Regions from separate parts of the Homo sapiens genome. Here all the other regions are linked to region 2. The links are contacts of gene promoters, found by promoter capture Hi-C in blood cells and fetal thymus (Javierre and others, 2016). All regions are on one chromosome and are shown on one strand. The core of a region is centred on a gene start or on the middle of the fragment in contact, and the rest is flanking DNA. Distances in the headings are between cores, read along the strand shown.

Region 1 (2,700 bases), core at 79-2,578, 110 kb before region 2:
TGTGTGATTGTTCATTTTAAAAAACATTCTTCAAATGAGACTTGCTCTCACTTTCAAAGAAATTGGCTTTGTCAAGCTATGTGAAAAATCCTATTAGAATTTTTGCTTGGAATTAGACTGGATTTATAAGTTGATTTGGGAGCAGTTGAAATCTTTACAATACTGAGTTCAGGAACAATGCAGATTTCTTCATTATTTCAGATCTTCTTTATGTCCTTCAATAACGTTTTGTAGTTTCCTTCATATTGGTCTTGTAACATTTGTTTTTATAGATTCAAGTATTTTAGAATTTTTCTTATTACATTCTTTCTGAACTGATTGTTTATGTTTTCCACTTACTATATCTTGCTTTCCCAATCAGAATTACAGTACTCACATGACTTTATTTACTTATTTTTCTAATAGGGTTCATTATAAGTTGTTGTCATCATGAACAGGATCTCTTTTTTCCCTTATATTCTCCCACTCTATATCATCTATATAATGGAATATAATGGATTTTGTAGATTTACCTTTTATCCTGCAAATCTGCTGGAGTCATATCACTTCTAAAAATTCCTGATTTACTTTCATGAGCAAAATGAAGGTTTGCTCATTTTGAATTCTGTCATTTAAAGAGAACAGTGCTTGTACTTTTTTCTATTTCTTTTTGTACTCAAGACTCAGTGCCAGAATTTCTAGCAAATTTATCAGAAAGGACTATTGATGGGAGGGGCACTCTGGTCTATTCCTATTGTTTCTAGAGAAAGGATTCTTGTATTTTTCCATGAGCTATCATGTGAACTTTTGGAAGACTGATAAATGTACAACTTGTATAATCATTGATTTATTTATCATTTTTTAAAAAAAAAAAAACTCCCCTGCCAATTTTTAGAATTTTAATTAAGTGAAGATGTTGAATTTTGAGGGCCTTAGCTTCTCCTCAACATCTATTTGGGTAACCACGTGACGTTCACATTTTTTCTTGTTAATGGGGTGGATTATATTGTTATACTAGCTTACATAATTGGGATAAAATCACTTGTTCAGCTAAATTTAATTTTTCTTTGATACAGGGTTTTGCTCTGTCTCCCAGGCTGGAGTACAGTGGCTTGATCATAGTTCACTGCAGCCTCAACCTTCCAGGCTCAAGTGATCCTCCCACTTCTCAGCCTCCCAAGTAGCTGGGACCACAGGTGCGTGCCACCATGCCTGGATAATTTTTTATTTTTTTGTAGAGATGGGGTTTCACCATGTTGCCCAGGCTGGACTTGAACACCTGGGCTCAAGTGATCCACCCACCTTGGCCTCCCAAAGTGCTGGGATTACAGGTGTGAGCCACCATTCCTGGCCCTTAACTTTTTATCTAATTTTAATTAAATATAAGTAGTCAAATATGGCCAATGCAGTTTTACAAGAGGACAAGTATATCTGAGCTCAGAACTATGGAATTTTAAGATTTACTAATTAAGCAGGTTATCAAATAATATTATATCAATTTGATCCTAATTTTAGATAATTTTAAAATGTGTGCATGAACAAAGAATAACTGAAAGCATATACACCATATTTTAGTAATATGTATCTCTGGGAAAGAAACTATAGTTAGTTTTTTTTTTTTTGGCTTTTCTATATTTTCTGTTCCTCCAAAAAAAAATAATTGCTCAGTATTGAAATATTTTAAAATCTGCCTGCATGCCACTAAGATTTTTATTGAGATTTTTTATTTTTATACTTCTATATGAGATTAATTTAAGTATTTAATGCTGTGTCTAGCAGATTTTGGAATTAAAATAATATTTTTACATAAAAAGATAACATGGCATCTGATGAATGCATTTTTAAAAACAAAGATGATATTTATCACCACTCATAGCAAGTGATTGGCAGAACTTGGGCTTCTGAAATCCAGACAGCTTCATGTAGCCCTTCCAATCATAGAAAATTAAGAACTGTTATCAAAGTACAATGAAACTGGAGGTATGAAAATGCCTGGACTATTTAGGAACAGTGGGGATAGTTTTGAAAATTTTGGAGTAAACGTGTAGTAAATCCGTCTAGGCTAAGTTACTGTTCCTTTGTCTCTAAAATATTACATGAAAGGTGATTTTTCACACTATCACATTTACCCATGAAATTCTAAATTCTGAAGTCTAGTAGCTGAGAACAGCTAATATAGAATATGTTCCGGTGTATTAGTGTAGGGGTTAAAAATGCATTCTCTGGAGCCCTTTTGCTTGCGTAGCCCCAGCTCTGCAGCTCTCCAGCTGAATCACCCATGGCAAGTTACTTAATTTATCTTTGCCTCAATTACCTCTTCTATAAAAAGGTGATAATTGTAGTATCCAAGGTTGCTGTGAGGATTAAATGAGTTAATGAATGCAAAGCACTTAAGGCCTTGCTTAACATGTAGTAAGCAATCCATGAAAGTTAACCATTTATACTATTACTGCGTACTGGCTGCAAAGAGCTTTGAAACACATTGCTTCCTTTATCTTTCCTTTATTTTATATCCTGTATCCTTACTTTATCACAACAACTATGTAAGATAAGTATTTCCCAGCTTTTTTTTTTTTTTTTTTTTGAGAAGGAGTCTCGCTCTGTCGCCCAGGCTGGAGTGCAGTGGCGGGATCTCGATTCACTGCAAGCTCCGCCTCCCGGGTTCATGCCATTCTCCTGCCTCAGCCTCCTGAGTAGCTAGGACTACAGGCGCCCACCACC
Region 2 (2,982 bases), core at 350-2,849:
CTTAAAAGTTTACTTTTATATACTTAATTTGAAAAGATTTGTTCAAACTTTTATAATTTGTTCTTTAATCATTCCCCCTCCCATCCACTTCAGTACCCAGAAAACTAAATATCCAAGAATTCCTGGGTAAAACAGACAACCACTAGATAGATATAACTAACGTATTTTTTTAAGCTGTATAGTTCTTCATCAAATGGAAATCGGCAACCACTGAAAATAACATTAAAAATTAGTGTGGGCATGAAGTATGGAATTTTAAACATCAGTTTACTATGCTGATTAAGTCAACATTTATATTTTCATCAGAACTTAATAATCCCATAAATAAATAGAGCTCTCAGTTATTTAAAAAAATCAAGGGATAACATATGTATTTAGACATATTAGCAGCGTAAAGATGTATGCTTCAACACACTTATTGGGGAAACGTCTGAAAATATTACTACACTGAATTCAAGGGTATCCAAAGGAACCTGACATAGAAGTTCTCTAGAATAACATCATTTCAGGGAATTTCAAAAAAGAAAAGGGGTCAAATAGGAAATAGCCTCAAATTAATTGACAAAGTTCAGTGTTTGCCCCAACTAGATTATTCTCTCTCTCCACTGCAAAAAGAAAGTCTCAGGATGAGTGAATCACTTAGACGAAAGTTCATCTAGTGGAATAAATGGAGAAGCCGCTTGGGCAGGTGACACAGGAGAGTCGGTGGTAGTGCTGACTTTCGCTGGTGAGTTACAAGAAGATCCGGCACTGCTGCTGTTTCCATCAAGGGTATCCGAAGATACACACACACCAGGATCTGACAGCTGTGCAACGTCAGAAGAAAGCATGTTGGTGATGCCCTGGAAAAATCTCTTTGGCTGATATTCAGTTTCCATTTCACATTTTCTTTTCAATGGTCCAAGAACACTTGGTCTAATGCAATTGATGGGGCTCTGGCTTCTCCGGGTGGTAAATCGGGTCGTTGGGCTGGGAATAGGGCTTGGAGGCAATCCGTTGCTACTTACAAAACTTTGCAAGGATGGCGAAAAACACTGCTTCCCAATTCCCCGAGTGGGTGACGGTGCTGGTGACACAGGAATGAAATCGATGCGCTTGGGGGAGGCGGATTTCTCCACGTCGTTGTCACTCAGGCTGAAACTTTCCTCCCAGGAGTGGCTTATCTGCATTGCGGTCTGCACCTCCCGTTCGTGGACCGTCTCTCGGTTGATCAAGTCCATGCCCTCTTCTTGTTTGATCTGGTGCAAGCGGCTGCTGTGCATGCGGACAGGGGAGGCCGGCAGCAGCAGGCCGTGGCGGCTCGGGAACGTTGTGCTGTTCCGCCTGGCGCTCGGCGCCTCGGCCTGGAACACCGGCGAAGTGTCACTGAGGCCGTGGATCAGGGGGGCGCTGTTAGACCTCCTGAGGCCCCCGCCGCCGCCGCTGCCACCGCCCTCCGCCGGGCTCCCGCCCGTACCCGGAGGCAGCTCCAGGTCTAGCTCCATCTTCTCCTGAGCCATGTCGGGGGCAGGGAGGCGGGGGAGGTGCTCAGTCAGGGACCTAGGATTCCCATTCCCCGCAGTCCAGGGCCGCCGCCGCTGCCGCCGCCACCGAGAATCTGTCAGCGGGCTGGCCCCTCTGCGCATGCGTAGCCCTTCGCGCAGGCGCTCGCGATGTCCGTACTCGCGGCGCCTGCTTAATGCGTAATATGTGCGCGGCAGTGGTAGGGGAGGGGCGAGGAGTGGTCGGGCCGCTAGTCCGTATATTCCTTCGGCAAATAGCTATTGAGCGCAAGCTCGCGTTGACGCATGTCAATAAGATTGTCATATTCTGGATTGCATACTCATAAAACAAAGCCCTGAAAGAGAGGCCCATGGTGATGTGGGGCTGTATGACGTGGAGTGGCGCTTGGCCTAATCAGGGAGGGCTTCCTCGAGGAAGGAACAATCTCCTGAAATCTGAAGAAGTGGGCGAAATGGGTGCGATGTAGAACTTTGCAGGAAGCGGGAAGCAACGGCTACCCAGCCAGTTGGCAGGCGGGAACCAGGAGGGGAGGAGAAAGTGTGGCCTGGAGTGGAGAGTGAGGGCTGGCCTGACGTGAGGTGGTGGACCAGACCACATTCTGGTCTTTATCTTGAGAACAATGAAAACTTAAAGGGTTTTCAAGCATGGGTGTAACAGCAACTGAAAAGCTCACTGGCCTGCAGTCTGGAGAATACATATTGGGAGATTAAAACCTTACAGAAAAAAGGCCAGAGAGGATGGTCATTTGCACTAAGGTGACAGTGTGGCAGTGGAGATGGAGAGAAAAGTAAATCTGAGAACTATTTAGGTTAGGGGAAGAAGCCAAAACAGAGGATGGTATTGCTATTGATTTACAGTCATAGTTCCAGCACAAGCATATGTGTGAAGTATGAAGGATTAAACCAGTAGGTCCTCACATTTTAAAAATGAAACCACAATTCTTGGCTCATGTAATTAATATAAAACCTTGATATCTCATTAAAAGTGAGTTTATTTGTTCATTTATTCAGTCAGTCAAGGTTTTTTTTTTTCAGCATACTTACTATGTGCCAAACACTGCTAGGAAATGGGCCCTAGTATGAACTTTTAATTCTTACTGAGGGGAAAATAGAGAAACGCAGGCTATTTTCAGATAGTGGTAAGCCTTAGGAAAAGTAAGATGGTGTGATGGAGCACTACTGATAGAAGTCAGGGGACAATTAGAGTTGAGATCTAAATGACAAGAAGCAGTAAGTCACGTGGACATCTGGGGAATGAGTATTCCAAGCAGAGAGAATAGCAAGTGCTAAGGCCGGAGGCAGCCATGAGTTTGATGAGTTAGCAGAAAAAGAAAAAAGGGCAGTGCCGCTGAAGCATAAGAGCGGGAGTGTTAGGAGAGGGTAAGAGTTGGATCTCATTCTGAATATGATGAAACGCCACTGGAGGGTTTTAAGCAGGGGACTGATATTATCTGGTTTATGTTTTAAATATCACTTAGGC
Region 3 (2,960 bases), core at 25-2,524, 83 kb after region 2:
GCCATGTGAATACACTGGGAAGACACATTGATTTTCACTTTTATTTCTCAAAACATTTAGTGACTCTCCTGACTTGGAACCATTTAGGTGGAACCTTACTAGCAAGACTGTCTCCTCCTGACAATATTTGAATTTGAATGTTTTGCTAGCAAAATGGAGCTTCCTGTTCTGACACCCCTTATAAGATGTTGTCAGCAAGCTGTCACAGCAACCTAAAATATTTGGCTGGGATGGGAGAAAAGCAAAAGGAGCTGTGTTAATCAGGGTATGCAAACGGATTTCACATACAACCCGCAAGCCTCAGTGGATTAGTATAATAAAGATTCATTTCTTGTTCATGTCAACATTCAGTGTGATTTGGTGGTGGGGCTGGTTTTGTGCAATCAGCCAGAGACCCTGGCTCCTCCTGTCTCATGGCGCCATTATCTTCAACAAGTGGCCTCTGAAATCCTTCCTGAACTGCAAGACAGAATGAAAGATTTAGAATGCCAGGTGGAGGAGTGGCAATCATCACGTCCACTCACATTCCACTGGCCAGAAATTGATCCCACAGCCCCACCTACTTGCAAGGGGTCTGGAAAACTCCATGTAAGCGCTGTGCCTGGGAAGAAGAGAAGAGCCTGGACACTGGGGAGCACTATATTCTCAGCCCCATGCACTGAATTAAACACGAGCCATTCATCTTACATTTAATCTTGCACAGCTATGACTGGAGGCTTATGAGGGAGAGTCTTTAGTAGTCAGGATTCTTCTTCTGTGCTATATCCTGGTATTTCCCCCGGATTTTCACATTGGAAGCAGCCTGTTGTATGTGTGTGGTTTTGGATGGTACTGCTGTCTTGAAGTGTTTGTGGACATACATGGGAGCTTAAAGAGTCAGCAGCCTATATTGGTACAGAAAATTGAACATTTAAAGCAAGTGTAAAAGAAGTATTCTTCTGGAGCTCTTGCCAGGATGAGAGACTATTTAATTTCATTACCATAGGAGAAAATGGAATCTGTGCAATCAGCTTTTAAAGTTGTTGCAACCAGAAACTTTGGAGCCTTTGGGATAGGAAAAAAAGTGAAGAGAAACATAACTCATCCCTCTACCTGCAGTCAGCTTGTCCTGATGGCATGGGTGATTTCAGGAATAATAATTGTAATGAGGGAAAGAGAAACAGGATGGGGAAAGCAAGAGGAATACAGCTTTTTATAGCACATATTTTAAGGAAAAATATGGGAGTTGGCAGTGCTTTGGAGATTACAAATAATTTAACCCAAAAGGCAAAGCTATTCTGTGAAGATACAAGTTAGAAAGTATTGGAGAGTTGCCCAGCATCTTCATACTACTTAAAACTGTCTGTCTTTTCCAGTGTGAAGCAGGCAGAGAACATCAGACTACAGCAAAGGACTAGGCGATGACCTCTTAAAAGTCTGCTGTGTCCTAGGTTTGTGTTGCCCATAGGTTGGGAACAGTAGGTGTTGCATGTTTGTGTAGTTTTTTCTTAATTTTGGAGTAATGAATGTATGAAAGAAGCCCTTCTTTGTGACCATTCTGCATGCCAAGCGATATGGTGGCATTTCCTCTACAGACTTTCAGATGAAAAAATTAAATAAGAGGTTTATTTAATATGCAAGAGTTTGTCTGTGATATCCTGATAAGAATAAAAGGCATAAATTGAACATGTACATATACTACAACCTCAAAAAAGTACGCAAAGTTGAGAAAAGTCCTGAAAAGAAATCTTCCGAAATGTTAGCTATTGTTGCCTCTAGGTTAATATTGTATCTTCTTTAACAAAACTTTCTTGTGCTAATTTTTCAAATCAGAAAAAGATAAAGAAATTGAGGAAAAATGTAAATATTTGAAGATGACAAAAAATTATGTTTGTTTTTAAAACTTAGGAAAATTTAGAAAAACAAAAAAGAAATCACTCTTCATTTTCTTCACCCAGAGACTGCCAGGTCCAACATTTGTTATTTGCTTACCATGCTGTCAAATATCTTACAGTTTTTCTAGATTAAAATAATGTTCACAGGGCAAAGGATCTAAATAGACATTTCTCAAAGAAGATATACAAATGACCAATAAGCATTTGAAAATATACTCAACTTTATTAGTCATTAGGGAAATGCAAATTAAAACTACAAAGACATCTACTATACAACACTTTATATCTACTAGGATGGCTAGAATCAGAAAGAGAGATAATAATAAGTGTTGGTGAAGAGGCAGAAAAATTGGAACTCTCCTCCATTGCTGGTGAGAATTGAAAAAGAAGCAACCACTTTTGAAAAAATTCTGGCAGTTCCTCAACAGTTTAAATGTAGAGTTAAGATACAACCCAGCAATTCCACTCCTACATATCTATCCAAGAGAAATGAAAACATACATCTACACAAAAACTTGTACACAAATGTTCATAGCAGCATTGTTCACAATAGCCAAAAAGTGGAAACAACTTAAATATCCATTAACTGATAAGTGGATAAAGAAAATGTTGTATATTCATACAATGAGATATTATCCAGCAATAAAAAGGAATGAAGTATCAGTACATGCTACAATGTGGATGAACCTTGAAAATGTTATGCTAACTGAAATAAACCAGACACAAAAGGCTACATGTTGTTTAATTACATTTATAGAAAATATCCAGTATAGACAAATCTGCAGAGACAGAAAGAGGTTGCCTCTGGCTGGGGAGAGGGGGCATAATAGGAAAATGAGGAGTGACTGCTAACGGGTACAGGATTGGGGGTAGGGAAGGTGATAAAAATGTTCTAAAGTTAATGACGAATGCATAACTTTGTGAATATACCGAAAACCATTGAATTGTATACTCTAAATAGGTGAATGGAATGATATGTAAGTTATTTCTCAATAAAGCACCTTTTAAAAAAGGAAAAGATAATGTGCATGTATCAAAAATTTCAAAGCATATAGAGGAGTCTAAAATTAAACATAAGGTTTTTCT
Region 4 (2,700 bases), core at 38-2,537, 100 kb after region 2:
AGAGTGCTGTAGACAATTTTACATTCTATGCCTTCTCAGTGTGCTACATAGTTCATTGAACTATTCACTGAGCATTTATTGTTTGAGGGATAAGAAACTAGGACTTGAGAGTATGAGAATGATACCTTAAACAATAGAACAGAATCTTCCCAGTGAATTTTATATGCATAATTTCTTGAAATTTCTAGCCATCAATTCCAATCATCTATCTAATATAGACAACCCCTGACTTATGATGGATCTACTTACAATTTTTTGATTTTAGGCTGGTGTGAAAGCAATACCCATTAAATAATACACTGCTCAACTTATGAGGTTATGTCCAGAGAAATACATTGCAAATTGAAAATGTCATAAGTCATGTGTGTTTTCACTTACAGTATTTTCAATTTATGATATGTTTATTGAGACATAAACCTGTCATAAGTCAAGGAGCATCTGTCCATGATTCTCTTCTGCAAAATCCACTCATTTAACAGGCATTTCTTGAGTGCCTTTTATGAATAAGTATCATGCTAAGATGTGGTCAACACAAAGAAGGCTAGTGTCTATTTCTGATATGAGCAAGTGTGTTCAGGGGTTTAGTGTAAGTGCAGGGGACTCAAATAAGAACACGCATTGTGACAGAAACCATGGAACAGGAAGACTCAAGGATTATGAGAGCACAGAGAAAAACACCAAACCCAGTGTGGTAGGGCGACAGCAAATGTCTTGGAGGTGGTGATAGTGATAGTGCCTTCCAAGTGAAGAAGAGACAGGCACCTACATTTCCAGAAAACAAAAAGATTATTGACTTTTCTGAGCTATGACGTAGCTTGATTTTGCCAAATAGGTAAACAAGAGACAGAAGATGAAGGGCATTTTTTGCCATGCTAAGAACCTTTGGCTTTATCCTAAAAGATGAGGATAAACTCCCCAGTTGTGAAGGATTTTAGACAAGGCAGTAACATGTCTTTTAAAAAATCACTCTGGGAGTGAGAAGCAGGGAGACAAGAGAGCTGTTCAGTCATCTATCTAGGTGAGAGATAATGGAATTCTAGCTAGAGATCTCTACAGTGGAGAATGAACATTAGGGGATGTGAGAAAAGTTAGTGGGGAAGAATTAAACAGCAAAGTGACTAATTGAACATAAAGATAAAGATAAAAAAGCGGGAAGGGTTAAGTTTGGTTCCCAGACTGGTAGAATGACAGAGCCATTCATATAGATATGGAATATGAGAGACAAAGGCCAGAGGGGTAAGAGAATGACTTCGTATTTGGAAACTATTGAGATTGTAGCACTGGTATGCTAGTGGAGTTATCCCATAGAATCTATTCAAAATTCAGAGAGGAAAAAAAAGAACTCTGAGTTGGAGATAAAGTACAGGAAATCAACACATGAATGTTAAGTGAAAGAGGAGGAGGAAAGGACTAAGGACAGGTCCCTGAGGAAAATCCATGCAAGGCATAAGATGACATGCTGATGAAGTACCCAGGTGTCCATCTTCAAAGTGAAAGAATCATGAAACCATAATGCTCCTAGATACACAGATATCGGTGTAGCCTTCAGGGGTATGCTAAGGCCATTGGAAGCAGGATTGCCTATGTGTGAGCCATATGCTCATCATCAGACCAATGGCTTCTCAGTAGCCAGAGTAGGCTCTAGCTTTAATGAATGAAGAACATAATTTTGTTTCTAATATAAAGTCATGGCTGGGTGCAGTGGCTCACACCAGTAATCCCAGCACTTTGGGAGGCTGAGGTGGGTGGATCACCTGAGGTCAGAAGTTCGAGACCAGCCTGGCCAACATGGTGAAACCCCCGTCTCTACTAAAAATACAAAAACTAGCCAGGTGTGGGGGCGGGCACCTGTAATCCCAGCTGCTTAGGAGGCTGAGGCAGAAGAATTGCTTGAACTCAGGAGGTGGCTGTTGTAGCGAGCTGAGATCATGCCATTGCACTCTAGCCTGGGTGAAAGAGTGAGACTCCATCTCAAAATAAGTAAATAAATAAAAATAAAAACAAAGTTAGAGAGATTAAATGTAGTTGAGGGATGGCATGAACATAGATATGCATAGCAATCATTATCCCTCGCAGCAAACTATTCTTAAATATTTTCCAAAATGTACTAGTATTTATATATTTGATTTTATCTAACCTCAGGTATGTATGTTTTCAGATTTTCATTTTGGGGGGAACACTGCTATACCGGGTGAAACTCATTAATAATACACAAGTCCAAGCACTTCAATTGTATTGAGGTTTCATTATGTTTCCTAAAAGAGAGGGAAAGAATGCATAAGCCAGATAATTGAATGAAGCCTTTGCTAGAGACTTATTTTGCAGCCATCTTCAACAATTCTTTGGTCCTCGTGGATGGGAATGTTTATCTATGTATTTGTGTAATATGTGGTCCCACAGAGTCCAAGCACCTGAAAAATCTAATTAGCCTGGTCTTGATTGACTGTGCATAGGATAATGCCATAGTCCTCAGTCTGCTCTTCGTCTCCTACAGCGTGCTTACTGATATGAAAATGAAGACACAGCAAGAGTTTCCATGAGCAGCTGCCAGACGGGCTTCTTGTGCTATCTTGTCCGTACAGAAAAATTGCCCATAAATAAGGGGGTCTGTCCACCAATCAGGGGCTGGGAAGTAGGCTGCACCCAAGGAGAAATCACAGCAGCAGGTTGTATGACTATAACGCAGTTACACCATTAGAG
Region 5 (2,700 bases), core at 190-2,689, 91 kb before region 2:
TTAATGAGATCGCTGGCCCCTGCTGGGCCCGGATATTTGTCAGGGGAGCACGAGTGCAGAGAACAAAACAGCAAGTCCAGTGAAGGTCAGCCAGCAGGCAACAACCTTGGTTCTCTGAGGCCCCACGCTGGCACATTTACTGTGTGTAGATGTGGGTGCCAGCCCACAGGCGTTCAGCACAGAATCTCCACAGCACAGGTACCAAGTGCTTAGCAACTTCCACCATGGCAGAACTGCCAACATTCAAACACAATGACCGCAATCAACGTTTGCCTCCTGAAGTCCACAGGCTTTCCTTGCTTGAGACTGGAGTTACCTGTTGAGTAACTGTGCTCAGCATCCAGACTTAGCAAAAATGAAGTCAGAAAAAGAGTAGAACTCCTCACAGTTTAAGATTTACCTTATATTTCTTCAATGCACTTATGTAGGGTGTGGAAAAAAAAAAAAAACACCCGACAACTGACTTTCTTGTCTTGGCGTAAGTTGAAGCTTTGGAAATCTCAGCTATGGGGTTTTGAGCAGTGGTTCTAGATGCTTGGATCCCATGGGCCAGTAAAATTTCGACAACAAAAGTTTGGAATCCAACCTTGGATTTCCAAATTTATTTTGCCAAGTAAGAACCTAAACAATTAAGCAAGCACACGTTACAATCCCTATCACATCAGGGCATTTTTAGCTCCAAAAAAGGAGAAAGAAATTTCAAATAAAGAACAGAAGTTTCTCTGTCCTCTTCCCCACTTATTCACTAAGAAGCAGTTAAAGTTCAATCACAGACCAGCTCTGGCATTCTGATATTCACCTCTTCTGAGGCAAGTTCATTTTTAAGGCCAAAGCTACTGCTTGTCTTAGTCTAAAAATACATATATCTTAATGGCAACGTATGTTCAGAATTACACAATGTTGAAGCTTGAGGAAGCATTAGCCGCCATCTGGAATTCCCCATTTAGCAGATAAATCATAGTCCAGGGAGGGAAAACAATGGCCCAAACTGATCAGGAACAAACAAGATTGGGAGATTAGACTCACATCAGAACAGCAGAAAAGTCATAAGCAGATAGGAATGGCTTAACTTAGACTTGACGTTCCTCTGTTATTCCTCCTTTTCAGGATTCTGTTACAAGTTTCAGGGGTTTCTCCCTGCCCAAATATCCCAATTACTTCCACATGAGGCCTTCACACCACAGGGGCTGGTGGGTAGAATTTCACTTACAGAAGCTTTGGTCAGTTGGTGTTCTCCTCTCTATGTACTAATAACAACACAGCTTTGTTTATGGGGTTTTAGAGCCTGATGACCAAGTGCTAGTTTTGGTGGCACTGGACTGAGAGATGTGGTGGTAAGCAATGGGGTAAAACTAATTTAGCATCTCAAAGACAACACAAGGGGACCAGTTTTGGAGCTGAGACTCAGAGCTTTCTTGCCTCTAGAGCAGCATTTTCCATTTAGTGAGCTTTGTTTATTTCAAATTGTAACCAAACCATCAATAGTGGCTCTGAGGACTTTTGACAAAACTAGTACTTACGCAACTCCTGGGTGATAGTGGTCAGTGTCGCTAAAGGATGCTAAATGCCCTCACTTGTATTCAACAAACATGACCTTACCCTCTGTATGACAGGATAAATGAAGGGTGCTTTGTCTTGATGTGCAGACATTAGGAAAGCTTAAGTGGCACTACAGTTGGGTGAATGCCACTACAATCCAGTAACAAACTACTGATGGTACCCAGTCTTCAAGTTGGACCTTCGTACACAGCAGTCTGTAAAAGCGGCCTTAAGGTATTATTAATTGCCTCTGCCAATTCAGCCAAGGTGGATATCCCTTGGTTTCCACATACAATTCTTTACGTAACTAGAGAGAGAGAGACAGAAATTGGTCCTCTTTTTTGCCAAATTAGAGAGTGCTCATGAATGGAAAAACAAAACAAAGCAAAACAAAAGACACATTCCTTGCTGGTGCCAACCTCCTGTTGCTGAGCAGTTCTGTGATGGGTACACATGAACTGCATTGTATAAGACGAGGCTGCACCATCTTCAGAGACCAACCAGCTGACAGCCAATCTGTAAAAGTCAGCATCTGAAGACAGCTTAAATTCCCCAACCAAACAGTGCATTCCGGGATGTCATTTACTGGGAACATGTGACATCATCGGTTATATAAACATTAAACCATCCAAGAAGTTATTACCATACTGGAAAACCGTGCTTGAAGATAACTTCAAATAAAGTAGAATATTGTATAATATCCAGTGCATGCAATAAATCCTTTGAGCTAAAGGAAGAGGTATATGGCTTTTAGTAATAGGAAATCAGTTTCTCCCCATCCTCACCAAATACACGCTGAACAAAGACATAAAGAGTTTTGATTTGAAGGAGCATCATATTATGGCTTGCCCAGCAGCAGTCACTTCTCATTTTCTCCCAAGAAGACTAAGCTGGCAGCTTTGTCTTCTACCCACATGTACATAAAAACTGGTGCAGAATGTTTGTATAGATCAGGAGTTGGTAATCTTTTTCTTTTTTATTTATTTTTATTTTTATTAAATATAAAGAGATGAGGTCTCACTATATTGCCCAGGCTGCTTTCAAACTCTTGAGCTCATGTGATCTTCCCACCTCGGCCTCCCAAAGTGCTGGGATTACGGGCGTGAGCCACTGCAGCCAGCCTTGGCAATCTTTTTCTATAAAGGGCCAGATAATATTTCG
Region 6 (2,700 bases), core at 167-2,666, 65 kb after region 2:
GCATCCATTATGCTACAGAACATGATTTTGTTCTTTCTTATGGCTGCATAATATTCCATGGTGTATATATACCACATTTTCTTCATCCAATCCATCATTGATGGTCACCTAGGTTGATTCCTTGTCTTTGCTATTATGAATAGCGCTGCAATGAACGTGTGAGTGCAGGTGTCTTTCTGATAAAACAATTTATTTTCCTTTGGGTATATATCCAGTAATGGGATTGCTGGGTTGAATGATAATTCTATTTTCAGTTCTTTGAGAAATCTCCAAGATTTCTCACTGTTTTCCACAGTGGCTGAACAAATTTGCAAACCAAGCAATCGTGCATAAGCGCTCCCTTTTCTCTGAACCTTGCCAGCCTATGTTATTTTTTGACTTTCTAATCATAGCCATTCTGACTGGTATGAGATGGTATCTCATTGTGGTTTTGATTTGCACTTCTCTGGTGATTAGTGATGATAAGCATTTTTTCATGTTTCTTGGGCACTTCTATGTCTTCAAGGAGAATGCTTTAGCCTCCAACTAACTTCTTCCTTAACAACTGCTTCCCTCTTAAATAATTAGGTTCTATTAGCTTTTATATTTAGAATAAATGTTATATTCTGTGATGGGAGAGATCAGACAAACCTATTTAAGTCAAGTTATATGTTATGGCATCCCTTTTAAGTTGAAGCCATATAGTTCTCCATAGATGTGCAGAGCAAGTCAGATGTAACTGGCTGTATCCTTGAAGACAGGAATTCTTTTCAGGACAACCCCCTTTCAACTGCATGTCCATATTCTTTCCTCTAAATAATCATTCCCATTCCTTCACATCTCTTGCTCTGCTTTCCTTCCTTTTACTTTTACAATTCTAATTTTTAAAATAAGTAATCCACACATATGGGTCCAAATTCAGAGGTACAAATAAATATGGGATGAAAATTCCCCTCCCATCCATGCCCCTCAGCTAGCCAATTCACCTCCCCAGAGGCAAACAAAGACACTAGTATCTCAGGTATTCTTCCAGAAATATTTTATATCATGCCTTTGGGGCAACCTTCCTTGGGGATAATACCTGCAGCTACCATTATAGAAATGCGGCTCATGACAGGTGAAATTAGGCAGTGGTAATGAAAGTTGAAGATCAAGTTCATGGACAGGATCGGCAATATGAAGTGGTTCATTCATGATCTCTGTGCATTTCCTTTCTTTAGTGGGAATTTACGAAAAGGATTTTTTTAAGGTAGAAGTATTGGTATTCATTTACTTATTCACTCAAGACAATTCTACATGTGCCGACACTATGGGGATGCAATGGGCCCTGATGATTAGCAGCTGGTGGGGGCGAGGAAACTAGTCAAATAATCATACTGTTGAAGCCCTCCTGGAGAGGGAACCACTGGTCCTGTCCTAGACTGGGGATGGGTGGCCAAGGCCTCCTTTCAAAAGTAACCTTAGAATTGACCTGAAGCGTGGTCGACCGATGCTGAGAACATTCCAAAGGGGGCAACGAGAGTGCTGCACAGAGGGTGTGAAGCTGGCAGTTGCAAGTGTGGCTCAGAAACAGCAAGGGGCAGAGTGGTGGATCTGAGACTGGAGTGGCAGCAGGACCAGGACCGTGCAGGGCTCTGGAACCATGTCAATGACCCACATCTTCACTCCAGGCACAAAGGGAGGCCATTGAAGAGTCTGGGGCAGATCCCTGTGCTTCTCTCTGTCCAGCACCCCCAGCCCCAGGCCCCACTCCTTGGTCAGGAAGTTTTTCCTGCACCCATGTCAACTGGTTCCTGTTATGAGGAAATACAGAGAGAATGATTTTGAGTCATGTTTCTTTATCTATCCTGCCAGTTATGCAAAGCAACCCAGGCCTTTTCCTCAAAGCTGCCAGGATAAGCCACAGTCAACAGTCAGAGACAGGTGCCTTTTGGGAGAGGCTTAGATTTTATTCCTAGACCACAGGTGGTGAATTTCTCTGCTATGGTGGCCACAAATGTGATATTGCAGGGTCCTGGGGGAACTCAGGGGCAGAGTATAAGCAACTGTGGAAGTAGAGCAGTCTTTGGTTCTTTGTTGGAGTGAGTGGAGTGCACCTTGGGAACTGCCGGAGAACTCTTAAGAACTTGGTATTTGCGGTAGGGTTGGGCAAGTCCCTAGAGCTACACTGGAGTTTCCATCCTGTTCCTTTAAAAGTAGTTGACTGTAGTTATGAACCTGCCTCTGACTGGACTCCAGGAGAGCAAAAACATCAGGGTAGAAAGCTACTTGGAAAAACAAGTCCTCAGAGGCTGTCCAAGAGCTCAAAAGGCCACTGAGGTGGAGAGCCCTGGGGTCAGAATTTGTGTGCTTCCGTGAGGGTTTGGCAGGGTACAGGAAGCAGAGATCTGGCCAGCAGAGCCTCAGGTGCCCTCCAACCATCACAAGTGCCCTGGTTACAATATGGGTAATGGATTCTAGGAGACCCAGAGTGGACTCAGGATACCAGAGAGGTTCTGGCTCAGTCCTGCAGAGAGACAAGAAGTTGGGCTAGGATAGAATCCGCACAAATGATGAGAAGCAGATGGAATGGGAAAGATATTCAGGAAGCAAAATCAATAGACATTGGTGATGGATTAGATGTGGTGTGTGCAGAGGGTGGAGCCAAGGATGGCTCCCAAGTTTCTGATCGTGCTACTTGGTGACTAGCGGTGCCCACCACAGAGCTGGGAACCTTGCAGG

What was found. The method cuts DNA at HindIII sites, captures the fragments that hold promoters and counts their contacts. A CHiCAGO score of 5 or more calls a contact.
Region 1: a fragment that was not itself captured here is called in contact with the fragment with the promoter of PABIR1 in region 2 in 7 of 17 cell types (naive CD4 T cells, non-activated CD4 T cells, naive B cells and 4 more); the score reaches 9.1 in naive CD4 T cells.
Region 3: a fragment that was not itself captured here is called in contact with the fragment with the promoter of PABIR1 in region 2 in 5 of 17 cell types (total B cells, erythroblasts, naive B cells and 2 more); the score reaches 9.6 in total B cells.
Region 4: a contact is called between a fragment that was not itself captured here and the fragment with the promoter of PABIR1 in region 2, in 4 of 17 cell types (naive B cells, total B cells, erythroblasts and 1 more). The highest score is 14.7, in naive B cells.
Region 5: a fragment that was not itself captured here is called in contact with the fragment with the promoter of PABIR1 in region 2 in 2 of 17 cell types (naive B cells and total B cells); the score reaches 7.9 in naive B cells.
Region 6: a contact is called between a fragment that was not itself captured here and the fragment with the promoter of PABIR1 in region 2, in 5 of 17 cell types (total B cells, erythroblasts, naive B cells and 2 more). The highest score is 10.4, in total B cells.

Annotation. Positions count from the first base shown.
Region 1 is chr9:68,889,598-68,892,297 of GRCh38, reverse strand. All of the region lies in intron 7 of PIP5K1B (phosphatidylinositol-4-phosphate 5-kinase type 1 beta), which reads right to left. Among named protein-coding and RNA genes, the nearest start is that of PABIR1, 110 kb to the right of the region's middle. The HindIII fragment of the contact is 3,450 bases long and covers 1-2,700 here.
Region 2 is chr9:68,778,682-68,781,663 of GRCh38, reverse strand. It overlaps PABIR1 (PP2A Aalpha (PPP2R1A) and B55A (PPP2R2A) interacting phosphatase regulator 1), which reads right to left and starts at 1,599. Exons shown (of 1, transcript NM_138333.5): 1 at 1-1,599. The coding sequence starts at 1,499. The coding sequence ends at 636. The region is part of intron 2 of PIP5K1B (phosphatidylinositol-4-phosphate 5-kinase type 1 beta); the gene reads right to left. RefSeq lists silencers at 1,339-1,578, 1,696-2,110 and an enhancer at 863-1,691. The HindIII fragment of the contact is 10,001 bases long and covers 1-2,982 here.
Region 3 is chr9:68,695,600-68,698,559 of GRCh38, reverse strand. No RefSeq gene overlaps it. Among named protein-coding and RNA genes, the nearest start is that of PIP5K1B, 8.2 kb to the left of the region's middle. The HindIII fragment of the contact is 4,000 bases long and covers 1-2,960 here.
Region 4 is chr9:68,678,604-68,681,303 of GRCh38, reverse strand. No RefSeq gene overlaps it. Among named protein-coding and RNA genes, the nearest start is that of PIP5K1B, 25 kb to the left of the region's middle. The HindIII fragment of the contact is 3,399 bases long and covers 1-2,700 here.
Region 5 is chr9:68,869,657-68,872,356 of GRCh38, reverse strand. All of the region lies in intron 5 of PIP5K1B (phosphatidylinositol-4-phosphate 5-kinase type 1 beta), which reads right to left. Among named protein-coding and RNA genes, the nearest start is that of PABIR1, 91 kb to the right of the region's middle. RefSeq lists an enhancer at 1-215. The HindIII fragment of the contact is 443 bases long and covers 1,218-1,660 here.
Region 6 is chr9:68,714,250-68,716,949 of GRCh38, reverse strand. All of the region lies in intron 1 of PIP5K1B (phosphatidylinositol-4-phosphate 5-kinase type 1 beta), which reads right to left. Among named protein-coding and RNA genes, the nearest start is that of PIP5K1B, 10 kb to the right of the region's middle. The HindIII fragment of the contact is 3,615 bases long and covers 1-2,700 here.